Regions from separate parts of the Homo sapiens genome. Here all the other regions are linked to region 3. Evidence: promoter capture Hi-C in 16 types of primary human blood cells and fetal thymus (Javierre and others, 2016). All regions are on one chromosome and are shown on one strand. The core of a region is centred on a gene start or on the middle of the fragment in contact, and the rest is flanking DNA. Distances in the headings are between cores, read along the strand shown.

Evidence for each region. Contacts are between HindIII fragments. The CHiCAGO score rates a contact against its expected background, and 5 or more counts as called.
Region 1: a contact is called between the fragment with the promoter of SIRT3 here and the fragment with the promoter of RNH1 in region 3, in 6 of 17 cell types (fetal thymus, non-activated CD4 T cells, naive CD4 T cells and 3 more). The highest score is 8.9, in fetal thymus.
Region 2: a fragment that was not itself captured here is called in contact with the fragment with the promoter of RNH1 in region 3 in 1 of 17 cell types (fetal thymus); the score reaches 6.8 in fetal thymus.

Annotation. Positions count from the first base shown.
Region 1 is chr11:233,496-237,902 of GRCh38, forward strand. SIRT3 (sirtuin 3) reads right to left here and starts at 2,847. Exons shown (of 7, transcript NM_012239.6): 1 at 2,553-2,847; 2 at 1-39. The coding sequence starts at 2,833. It overlaps PSMD13 (proteasome 26S subunit, non-ATPase 13), which reads left to right and starts at 3,481. Exons shown (of 13, transcript NM_002817.4): 1 at 3,481-3,649. The coding sequence starts at 3,555. RefSeq lists a silencer at 2,913-2,992 and enhancers at 3,143-3,332, 3,493-3,732. The HindIII fragment of the contact is 9,250 bases long and covers 1-4,407 here.
Region 2 is chr11:209,307-213,217 of GRCh38, forward strand. It overlaps RIC8A (RIC8 guanine nucleotide exchange factor A), which reads left to right. Exons shown (of 10, transcript NM_001286134.2): 2 at 1-12; 3 at 101-694; 4 at 1,265-1,356; 5 at 1,893-2,043; 6 at 3,110-3,205; 7 at 3,309-3,453; 8 at 3,531-3,675. It overlaps MIR6743 (microRNA 6743), which reads left to right and starts at 30; the gene lies at 30-100. RefSeq lists an enhancer at 1-270. The HindIII fragment of the contact is 373 bases long and covers 2,413-2,785 here.
Region 3 is chr11:505,284-509,225 of GRCh38, forward strand. It overlaps RNH1 (ribonuclease/angiogenin inhibitor 1), which reads right to left and starts at 1,959. Exons shown (of 11, transcript NM_203387.3): 1 at 1,830-1,959. It also overlaps a transcript of LRRC56 not described here. RefSeq lists an enhancer at 1,228-1,397 and a cis regulatory region at 1,313. The HindIII fragment of the contact is 5,455 bases long and covers 1-3,921 here.

The sequences.
Region 1 (4,407 bases), core at 1,597-4,096, 270 kb before region 3:
CCCACAGAAAAAGATATGGACCTTCTTCCACCTTTAATACTGACAGAAAAAAACACAGCAGCAAAGGAAACAGATAGCAACCAATCTCAGGATAGCAAGAACGAGCATGGCTCTGCCCTCTGCACCACCGCCACCCTCGAGAATGAGCATGTGTGTCTCCCCAGGCCTCTCAAAATAATCACCTTTCTTAGACGACTATTGGGGTACAACAAAAAGCAGTCATAAATCAGAAATCAAGACTTACTTGGGAGCAAAAAATTCAGGTTAATGGGAACTGTGCTCATTTCATAATTCAGTACACTCAGTAGGCACTCAACTCTGACTGACTGCAAACCTCCAAAGGGGTCTCCTAATGAAAACTGGTTAAGGAGTCAAGAAGCAAAGAGGGAAAACCCTGGTTCTAAAACCATCTCACCACCTATTAAGCGCCCCACTTCACACAGCATTTCAGACATCTATTCACTTAAGGTCGTTCCCCAAACAGCTACTGTGCTCCTACTAAACACGAACTGTTAAGAGAAGCACAAAAGGAATGAAAGTTATTATTGCTGTTGAGTGCCTGCTGAGGGCAAGGTATCACGAAGGGTGCCTGAGTACATTCCTCATTTACGTAAATAAAATGTTTGTGAGTCACTGAAAAACACATAAACGGCGTTTTACCAAATGTCTGGAACATACGTAAGATGTATGGCTTAAAGTACATGCTGCATGGTGTGAAATTCACTGGGAGTGGGGGACCCTGAGGGGCAGGCATGGGTGCAACCTGGGAGGGACACTGTGCAAAGGACACAAACAACAAATTCAGAGAGCTCAAAAATCCAAAGCCAAACTGGAGGAAGCCCATGCAATGGACTACTCCTCACACGCAGCCCTATGCCTCCTGCTTTAGGGCCAGTGGTAGCAAGGATTTTTGTTTTGTTTTGTTTTGTTTTGTTTTGAGACGGAGTCTCGCTCTGTTGCCCAGGCTGGAGTGCAGTGTCGCGATCTCGGCTCACTGCAAGCTCCGCCTCCCAGGTTCACGCCATTCTCCTGCCTCAGCCTCCCGAGTAGCTGGGACTACAGGCACCCGCCACCACGCCTGGCTAATTTCCTTGTATTTTTAGTAAAGACGGGGTTTCACTGTGTTAGCCAGGATGGTCTCGATCTCCTGACCTCGTGATCCGCCCGTCTCGGCCTTCCAAAGTGCTGGAATTACAGGCGTGAGCCACCGCGCCCGGCCGCAAGGATTTGTTTTAACAGTTTTGCAGAGTATCACAGATATTAGAATGCGCTCCACGTGTTTGTAGGTCCTGGTCCCTGCTCCATCCATAGCACCTAGAACAGAGTCTGGCACAGAATAAGAGCTCAGTCAGGGCTTCTTGGATGAACGACTGACTCTTCGGGATCTTTGTTTTTTTTTGAGACGGAGTTTTTGCTCTTTCGCCCGGGCTGGAGTGCAATGGTGCCATCTCGGCTCACTGCAACCTCTGCCTTCCGGGTTCAAGTGATTCTCCTGCCTCCGCCTCCTGAGTAGCTAGGATTACAGGCGCCCGCCACCACGCCCGGCTAATTTTTGTAATTTCAGTAGAAATGGGGTTTCACCATGTTGGCCCAGCTGGTCTCGAACTCCTGACCTCGTTATCCACCCGTCTCATCCTCCCAAAGTGCTGGGATTACAGGCGTGAGCTACCGCGCCCGGCCAACTCTTCAGGATCTATTAAACTTTTTTCTTTTTTTTTTCCCACAGGTAGATAAGAGTCTTGCTCTGTCACCCAGGCTGGAGTGCAGTGGCTCAATCATAGCTCACTGCAGCCTTGAACTCCTGGACTCAAGGGATCCTCTTGCCTTAGTCTCAGGAGTAACTGGGACAACAGGCTTGCGCCACCATGCCCGGCTAATTTTTAAATTTTTGGTAGAGATGGGGGTCTCGTTATGTTGCCCAGGCTGCTCTTGAACTCCTGGCCTCGAGCGATCCCCGTCTCAGCCTCCGAAAGTGCTGGTATTACAAGTGTGAGCTACCACTTCGAGACTCACTTTTCACCAACATTTTCAGCAGTTGTGTCAGACAGCAAGTCAATGTGCCATTATTTACTTAAATATTCATCCATTATAGGGCATCTGATACCTAACAACCATGGACCTTAAGATTTTTTCCTATGTAGCCTCAGTTCTTAGATGCAATTACTATGGAGACGGGTACGATCACATGCCAGTGGGAGTATTAACCGCACAACATTTATGAGGGATCATTAAAGCGTTAAATGCATATACTTTTGGACCTAGCAATCCCAGTACTAGGAATTTATGCAAACAGTGAGGTGCCAACAAGGTTATTCACCACAGCATGATGCACAATAACTAAAGGTTAGAACGTATTTCAATGAGGGAATGGTGAAATAAACGACAAAACCCCCATAAGTGACGTCCACAGATCAGCATAAAGACGGAGGCCCCGGTGTTGGAACGCACGTAAACTCCCAGACATGCCGCAAAGGAAACACGGCAAGGTGAGAAAGAGTGGGCGAGGTGTCGACAACGAACACGCAAGAAGTGCTTGTCCTTGCCCAAAATACCTCGAAAAGAAGAAACTGGGAGCTGCTGCCCTCGGCTGCCTCCGGAATGCCCTGGGCACCTCGGGTCTGGGAGGCCTCTGCAAGGGGCGCGCCGGGTCCAAGGGCTCACCGCGGGCCCCATGGCTGCCTCTCAGCCCCGCACTCACATCGTCCCTGCCGCCAAGCACCAGCCGACAGCCGCAGGCCTGAAACGGCCCCACGCCTCCCCCGGCCTCGACCCGTTCAACTACCCGGCCCCACAGCCGGAGGGCTGCCGCGGCGCGCCAACCCCAGAACGCCATGTTCCGCGCAGTCCAAGGAGTCCTCCGGACTCGCCCCGCCCCCGGCGCCCCGGCCCCGCCTCCGCCTCCCACCCCCGCCCCCGGCGCCCCAGCCCCGCCTCCGCCTACCGCCCCCGCCCCCGGCGCCCCGGTCCCGCCTCCGCGCCCCGCCCCCGCCTCCTTGCCGACGCCTCCGGCGCGCCCAGGTAGACGTAGAGGCGAGTAGAGGAAGTTCCCTAGTCTGGTGTCTCATCTCTCGCCCCGGAGGTCAAACCTGGAGCCAGCATTTCTGTACCCTGCGCTCACACCTTTTTCAACCCGGATGGCGGTGATAGTTAATACTTTCTGAGCGCTTTTACTATGGTCAGGCATTATATTTACACCTAATCCTCGCAAAACACTACTGGGAAGATCCTCATTTGACAGGAGCAATTCCGGGTCACAAAGGCTGACACCACAAAGCTAGTCCGTAGCGGGTTCGACCACAGGCGCCCACACTCTTTGACGCCTCAATGGCACAGCCAAGTGCGCGGGAAGTGGGCTGCAAACGCCGGAGAGTTTTGTCCGGAGCGCAGAGACGCGCTGTAACCGAGCAACCAGCGGGGCCCGCCCCCGGCCTGCTACGGCGCTCCCAGCCTGCCCCGCGCCGCTCGGCGCCGGAAGTGAGTGAGCATTTCCGGCAGCCATCCCCGCGGTGCTGACATCCCGGTTGTTCTTCTGTGCCGGGGGTCTTCCTGCTGTCATGAAGGACGTACCGGGCTTCCTACAGCAGAGCCAGAACTCCGGGCCCGGGCAGCCCGCTGTGTGGCACCGTCTGGAGGAGCTCTACACGAAGAAGTGAGCGCCGAGCAGACGGGCCCTGGGCCCCGGCGATAGAGGGAGACGGAGGGGGCAGGCGGGCGGAGGAGCGGACCCTTGATGGGCTGAGGGCGCCCAGACCCAAGTTGGGGGGAAACGGGGACGTGTAGCGACCGGCTGTGCCGGCAAGGTTTGCTGAGGAACCTTGAGTGGCAGGGTCGAGGAATAAGAGGGATGACAGACCACGAGGGCCAAGAGCTGTAGCCAGGATGTTTCGGTCTGAGATTCACTGCTTCCTTAACGGGGGACTGAGACTGAGGCTTCTGAACTCCTACCTCGGGTCTTACTAAAACGGTTCAGGAGTAGCCTTTGATTTTAGCTCTTGATTCCATCTAACAAGCAAACACACTTTCAGGGCCACCACCCACTTTGGGAAACATGTTGGTGATTCGTGCTTAGCCTTGTCATAGTGTAACTGTATCTACAGTTATCTTTCTCATGGTCTGGAGTTGATAAACCAGAGGCTAGTACAGCTTTGCTGTTTTCCCTATTCATTCTGCAGCTGGTTGCACGGGGTGCAACCACTTCCGCCGTCCCATTGTCTTTACCTTCCATTGTATTTCTCATGGGCTTTCTGCCCCTAGAAAGATCTTAAAGTTTAGGTTTGTTTAGAAACAGGATGAATTGCAGAGCAATTAAATTCTTGCTAAGCACTAACCTCCTTTTAATATGAGTAGAATAAATTGCTGGCATTGGGCTGGAGCTATTCCATAGAAAATACATCTCCTGTAGTAACC
Region 2 (3,911 bases), core at 1,349-3,848, 300 kb before region 3:
GAGGACCGGAAGGTGGGTGCTGGCCCAAGGGGTAAAGGGGCAGGGACGGGTGGCCCCAGGAAGAAGGGCCTGGTGGAGCCGCTCTTCTCCCTGCCCACAGAGACTGGCGGAGCTGCTGGTCTCCGTCCTGGAACAGGGCTTGCCACCCTCCCACCGTGTCATCTGGCTGCAGAGTGTCCGAATCCTGTCCCGGGACCGCAACTGCCTGGACCCGTTCACCAGCCGCCAGAGCCTGCAGGCACTAGCCTGCTATGCTGACATCTCTGTCTCTGAGGGGTCCGTCCCAGAGTCCGCAGACATGGATGTTGTACTGGAGTCCCTCAAGTGCCTGTGCAACCTCGTGCTCAGCAGCCCTGTGGCACAGATGCTGGCAGCAGAGGCCCGCCTAGTGGTGAAGCTCACAGAGCGTGTGGGGCTGTACCGTGAGAGGAGCTTCCCCCACGATGTCCAGTTCTTTGACTTGCGGCTCCTCTTCCTGCTAACGGCACTCCGCACCGATGTGCGCCAGCAGCTGTTTCAGGAGCTGAAAGGAGTGCGCCTGCTAACTGACACACTGGAGCTGACGCTGGGGGTGACTCCTGAAGGGAACCCCCCACCCACGCTCCTTCCTTCCCAAGAGACTGAGCGGGCCATGGAGATCCTCAAAGTGCTCTTCAACATCACCCTGGACTCCATCAAGGGGGAGGTGGACGAGGTGAGCACTGACCTTAACCCATGGATGGGTCTCAACTCAGCTCCAACATTTCCTGGACCTGCTTCCTACTGGGTACCTTCAGGTTTCTGGGTGTCAGACATGGAGAGGACAGGACCTCCCAGCCTGTTGGGACAAGGCCAAGGAGATGCCAGTTCTGGGCTGGGACCTCAGGAAAGGCTTCTGAGGGAAGTAGAGGCCCCTTCTGGCTCTTGCTGCCTGGCAGGAGGGCTGTGTGGTGTCTGGGGAGACTGTAAGAGATCCTCCACCATGAGGCTGTGAGTGGGGCTGAGACAGAGTGTGACTTCATCCCTAAGGTATGTGTTAGCATTCCTAATCAGGGAAGTGCTCTTAGAAGAATACTCATGGAGTTTTTAGGAAGACAGCAGTGGTCATCTTTTGCCCCCAGCACTACCCAGAGTCACCTAGGAAGACCCCAGGGGACCAGGTATGCAGTACAGGAGGTGCACAGTCATTGCCACACAGTCCTGGAGTGCAACAGACAGTGGAGCCTCAGCAGGCAGCAGTGGGATGAGTGGGGCTCCTCACAGGAACCCTTCTTTCTTTGGTCAGGAAGACGCTGCCCTTTACCGACACCTGGGGACCCTTCTCCGGCACTGTGTGATGATCGCTACTGCTGGAGACCGCACAGAGGAGTTCCACGGGTGAGAATGGGGCTTTTTCTGGGAGGGAAGTGTGCCCACATGTCTAGATGGTCGTCCTCAACCCCGGCTCTGAACCAGAACCACCTGAGAGCCCAGGCCCCACCCTAGAGAGTCTGACGTTGTCTGGGTGAGTGAGACTGGACATAGCCATGAATTTGGGGGCAGGAATGTGCCAACTGGGCCTTGGGTAGTGGCAACAGTATGGTACTTACTAGGGCACATTGGTTCCTTGTCCCCGTTTTTGGTCTACCTGCCCCTAGGCTGGTCTGGGTTTCCAGAGATGGTCTGGCGCTTTGGCTCAGACAGGGTCGGGGAGGCAGTGTGTCTCAGTGCCCCCACTTCCCCAGGGGACCCCACTGTACAGCTGAGTGGCAGTGCCTCTCAGATCAGTCCCTGCCCTTGGCTTTGGTCCCTAGCGCTGCCCCTTTGGGACTCAGATGCCAGCTCATGTAATGTGTGGTTCAGCGGAGTCACAAAGATTGCACCTGTGCTCAGGGATTAGCCCTGTTGAAACCCCTACCTCCATCTGTCCCCAGCCACGCAGTGAACCTCCTGGGGAACTTGCCCCTCAAGTGTCTGGATGTTCTCCTCACCCTGGAGCCACATGGAGACTCCACGGAGTTCATGGGAGTGAATATGGATGTGATTCGTGCCCTCCTCATCTTCCTAGAGAAGCGTTTGCACAAGGTAGGCTGGGGATGGCTGTGCAGGCTCCCCCAGTGGCTCTGGCACTGGTTCTCCTGCACAGATGTGGTCAGTGCTTCCACACTGTCCACACTGGTACGTGGAGATTGTCTTGGTGGTGTGATATGGGCGACTCTTCCGGTTGTTCTGTGGTCCAGCCTGGCAAGAAGCCAGACCCTTCCTCCATGAGAAGCATGTGGACACCTTCCACACACTTGAAGGTTTCACTTCTTAAATCTTTGGGGATCTTTACTGAGTGGTCCAGAGAAGCCCCCCAGTCCCTACTTTTAAGTCTTAAACACAGGCAGCCCTTGATTACAAGCATAGTTGTCCCTCAGCATCCTGAGGAGACCCATAGGAACCTCAGATCAAAGCTTCCTTCTGATTGCTGTGACTGCACTACAGGGCATCTGGACAGCTGGGGCTCTAACCATCTTCCAGGAGCTTGCAGAAAGCAGGCTGGAGTACAATAAACCGAGATTTAGTAGACCTCCTGGGAATCTACCTGCCTAAGCAAGGGACACACAAGGTGCCTGCGAGCCAGTCAGGATAGGGAGCTGGCACTGGACACACAGCTAGGGGGTTGTCTGTGCCCGTCGCTGCCACTGCTGGTGCTGGGGTCCAGGCACATTATGCTAGGAGGGTCAAGAACTCCCTGCTCTGTCCACGAAGTACACAGAGCGGGGATTCGGTTCTCGTTTCTTTTTGCCACCAACATCTGAGGGCAATGTGTGTGCGAGTCTAAAGCTTTAATTGCTTTGTGTTTTCTTCCCAGCTCTGGTTTATAGTTGAAGTAATTAGACTTAAAGCAGTTATTTCTCCCAAGTCACAAAGCTTACGAGTACCTCTGAGTTACGCTCTATCCCTGTCCTTTTCAAAAGTGACACAGACACCCACCACCCACTCTTGGCCTTCTGCTGACTAACTGCAGAGGGGCCTCTTCCCAAACCTCTGCCGCCAGGACCAGCTGTTGTGTATGTTGGTGGGAAGGGGTGGTGGGGAGGTGTAACTCTGTGCCAGTCACAAGTTAGGCAGGGGCATAGCCCCAGTGACAGAGAATCCTCTACAGACACACAGGCTGAAGGAGAGTGTAGCTCCCGTGCTGAGCGTGCTGACTGAATGTGCCCGGATGCACCGCCCAGCCAGGAAGTTCCTGAAGGCCCAGGTATAAGGCTGAGGAGCTGGTGCTCCTGGGGGATGTGGTTTCGGCCCTGATCACAGACCCTTGGCTGCTCTAAGCCCAAGCTTAGGGATGGCCACCTCCCCAGGTGCTGCCCCCTCTGCGGGATGTGAGGACACGGCCTGAGGTTGGGGAGATGCTGCGGAACAAGCTTGTCCGCCTCATGACACACCTGGACACAGATGTGAAGAGGGTGGCTGCCGAGTTCTTGTTTGTCCTGTGCTCTGAGAGTGGTGAGTTATGGAGACCCAGGTCCCAGCCCACCCCACCTCAGCCAGGCTTGCACACTGACCTCTGCCTTGCCCCTCAGTGCCCCGATTCATCAAGTACACAGGCTATGGGAATGCTGCTGGCCTTCTGGCTGCCAGGGGCCTCATGGCAGGAGGCCGGCCCGAGGGCCAGTACTCAGAGGATGAGGACACAGACACAGATGAGTACAAGGAAGCCAAAGCCAGGTGTGTACCCCCAACACACCCTCGGGTCTCCACTCACAGCCCCATAGTCCCTGCTTCCACACCCATGTGGACCCCTGTAGGGTGGGACAGGATGACAAATGGGCAAGAGCTTCCAGAATCAAGCACCTGTTCCTAAGTGCTATCTGGGATACCAGAAGGTGGCAGATGGCAGGAGCTGGTTACCTGTGCCGCTTCTGGAGGGAGGCCTCTTCCTGCAGTTGCCTTGCCCACCTCAC
Region 3 (3,942 bases), core at 709-3,208:
AGATGTCCACCTCCTAATCTCCAAACCTGTGGTGTTACCTTAAGTGGCAAAAGGGACTTTGCAAATATTAAGAATATTGAGATGTGAAGGCTACCCTGGGGTGTCTGGGCGGCCGGCATATAATCATGAGAGTTCTTATGCAGAGACAGTAGGTTTTGAAGATGGAAGAAGGTGGCCTCTAGAAGTTGGAAGAGGAAAAGAAGCAGATTCTCCTTGGGAAACTCCAGAAGGAACTACCCTTGCCAACACCTTGATTTTAACCTCCTAAAACTCACTTCGGGCTTCTGAGCTCCAGGCCTATAAAACAGCCTGTGACAAATTCGTTATAGCAGGGATGAGAAAATAGCTCACTGCAGCCTCCTCTTCCAGGGCTCAAGTGCTCCTCCTCCCTCAGCGTCCCAAGTAGCTGGGACTACAAGCGTTCACTACCGCAACTGGCTAATTTTTTCTATCTTTTGTAGAGACGGGGGTCTCACTATTTTGGCCAAACTCAGTATGTTGGTCGCAAACTCCTGGGCTCAAGAGATCCGCCCGCCTCGGCCTCCCAAAGTGCTGGGATTACAGGCTGCAGCGCACCCAGCCTAATGTAACTTTTTTTTTTTTTTTTTTTTTTTGAGAAGGAGTTTCGCTCTTGTCAGCCGGCTGGAGTGCAGTGGCACGATCTCGGCTCACCGCAACCTCCGCCTCCTGAGTTCAAGCCATTCTCCTACCTCAACCTCCCAAGTAGCTGGGATTATAGGCGCCTGCCACCACGCCCGGCTAATTTTGTATTTTTAGTAGAGACGGGTTTTCACCATGTTGGCCAGGCTGTTCTCGAACTCCTGACCTCAGGTGATCCGCCTGCCTCTGACTGCCCGGCCCAGTGTAACTGTTAACGGCAACATCGTGTGCAGTCTCCGGCTTGCATTCGGTTTAGTCAGCCAATCGCTAAGACGACACTTGAGACCGTTTTCAGATCTTTAGGCTTTCCACCATCCTAGAAGGGGGCCTGCCTGGTTCTAAGGCCCTTCTGAAACACTGCCAAACTGTCCTCGGGAAACGGTGCAGAAGTCCTCTGGTTTCCCCCAAGGCGCGTGGGCACCTTGGCTGGAACCTCGCCCAGTAACACGACGTGCCTGGGGCCCCTTCGTCATTTCCGCCAACCCCGGTGACAACCCTGACACCGGCCCCTAAGTGCCATTCCAGTTATGTTGCTCTCCTCCCCGCAGCCCCAGGCGGCAGCTTCGCGGCCCGGCGTCCGGTCCCCCGGTGGTCCCGGAGCGAAGCTCCGCAATGGAGAGCGGAGGACCCTCCCTCCCCGACCTCGCACGACCAAGACCGCCCACCTTTCCCCCAACGCCCGGCTGTGGGAGCCGTTCGAGTCTTCTCCGCCAGGGCGCTCCTTCCCGGGAGGCCGCTTCTTTGGGGGAATAAGGTCAAGGATTACGGGATTTGGGGAAGCAAGCTCGGCTGGGCCAGGATTGCTTGCGTAGCTCGCTGGAATCTAAGGCACTAGAGGGCTTGACGGCCACGTGAGGACGAACCACGCAGGCGCAGCCCCGCGCCCCGGGCAAGGACTTCCGGCAAGCCCCAAAGGGGAGCGTGCACCGCGATGACGTCCTCAAGGCGCGCCACGTCCGCCCGGCGGCGCAGCTGCCCAGCGCAACCTCGGCCCCGCCTCGATAGCCCCGGACCCCTGCCCCGCCCGACCCCGCCCCGCCACGGGAGCGCGCCACTCGCCCGCGCAGCAACGGCCTCAATAGCGCCAGGCCCGCGTCTACAAGAAGCCCGACCAAGGCCGGCGTGGGCGAGGCCTGGCTAGACGCTGACGCACCGCTGGAGCTACTGACCTCGGGACGACTGGCGGACGGTCGCGGGCCTGGAGACCCAGAGCGAGACGGCCTACTTCGTTCTCGAGCCAGCAGAACGGGTTGAACGTGTCGACAACCCCACCCGCCAGTCAGCGGCGCGGGCGTGTTCGAGCCGGCTCGTGGGCGTGGTCAGGTGCGTGGGCGGGGACTACTGGGCGGGGCTCGGCGCGGGGGCGGGGCCTGGCGGGAGTAGTCTCGGGGTCGGGGCGGGGCCCGGCGGGCGGGGCTCGGCTAAGCACAGTCTTGGCGCAGCGGCGGGGCCTGGTGGGGCGTGGCTCGGTGAGGGAGGTCTCGCTTGGGGGCGTGGTCTCCCCCAGTAGGCGGGGCTTGGTGCCGGGGGCGGGGTCTGGCGGGCGCGGGCGCGTGTGCGTGTTGTGGGCCTCGCACTGGCACGCAAGTCTCAGCAATTCCTGAGAATCCTCGGAGGAAGAGGCCGGGGCCCGGTGCGGCAGCGCCTTGGGGGCGGAATCGCAGGCGCGGGTCGGGCCTTGCTGGGGCGCGGGGCGCGGCCCCCGGAGAAAGCGGCCGCCTCGGGACAGGAGGGACCCGGGAGAAACCCCCCTGGGGCGGCTCCGCATGTCGGGGTCGCGACTCTAGGCGACCTTGGTAGAGGGGCTCGTTTGCGCCGAGCTCGCGACCCCCGAGGGAGCCACGGCCCCGTGAACCACGCTGCCCGTCCTGGCCACTGGCTGCCGCCTTTGTTTCGTGGGACCCCAGCCCGCAAGGCCTGCGGAGCCGCGGCCTCGTCCCGAGTGTTCTGAGCGCGGTCCGAGCTGCTCCTGCGTCCACTCTGCTGCCGACACCCGAGCGTCGCCTGGAGCCCTGGCACTGAGGGGCGCAGGCCGAGTTCCAGACCAGCCTGGGAAACGCAAAGCGACCCCACCTCCACAAAAGTGGGTTTTCTTTAAGTTTTTGACTAGTCCGCAATTCACAGAATTGACATTTTGGCAGATGAAGATTGCAAGTAAGGAAACTAACGGTATCTCAGATTTGTTCTTTAGCAATTTGCTAAACCTCTCCTCTGACTGCCTTTATTAGGTATTTGTTTTCGAGACAGGGTCTCACTCCACTGCTTAGGCTGTACTGCAGTGGCGCGATCCCAGCTCGCTGCAGCCTCCACCTCCCGGACTCCAGTGATCCTCCCGCCTCAGCCTCCCAAGTAGCTGGTACCACAGGCGCCAGCACGCCTGGCTAATTGTTGTATTTTATGTAGAGAAGAGGTCTCCCTGTGTTGCCCAGCCTGGTCTTGAATTGGGCTCAAGTGATCCTCCTGCTTCAGCCTCCCATATCGCTGGAATTACTGGCATAAGCCACTACACCCGGCCTGATCATCTTTAAAGAAGGTGGTTCTGGCCGGGCGTGGTGGCTCACACCTGTAACCCCAACACTTTGGGAGACCGAGAAGGGTGGATCACCTGAGGTCAGGAGTTCAAGACCAGCCTGGCCAACGTGGTGAAACCCCATCTCTACTAAAAATACAAAAATTAGCCAGGCATGGTGGTGGGCACCTGTAATTCCAGCTACTTGGGAGGCTGAGGCAGGAGAATCGCTTGAACACGGGAAGCAGAGGTTGCAGCGAGCCTAGACCACACCATTGCACTCCAGTTCGGGCAACAAGATGAAACTCTGGCTGGGCGCGGTGGCTCACACCTGTAATTCCAACACTTTGGGAGGCCAAGGCAGGCAGATCACCTGAGGTCAGGAGTTCAAGACCAGCCTGGCCAAGATGATGAAACCCCATCTCTACTAAAATTACAAAAACTTAGCCAGGCATGGTGGTGCATGCCTGTAATCCCAGCTACTCAGGAGGCTGAGGCAGGAGAACCACTTGAACCCAGGAGGCAGAGGTTGCAGTGAGCCAAGATCGTGCCACTGTACTCCAGCCTGGGCAACAAGAGCGAAACTCCATCTCAAAAAAGAAAAAAGAAACTCCGTCTCAAAAAGAAGGTGGTTCACACACACACACACACACCCCCAAGAAAGCTCAGGGCTGGAAGGCAGCCAACCTGGCTGTGACCCTCATCCTGCACACGTGAGCTTGGTGACCAGTAGCTGATTCTTTAACTCTCTAAGCTTTGGAGTCTGGATGTGA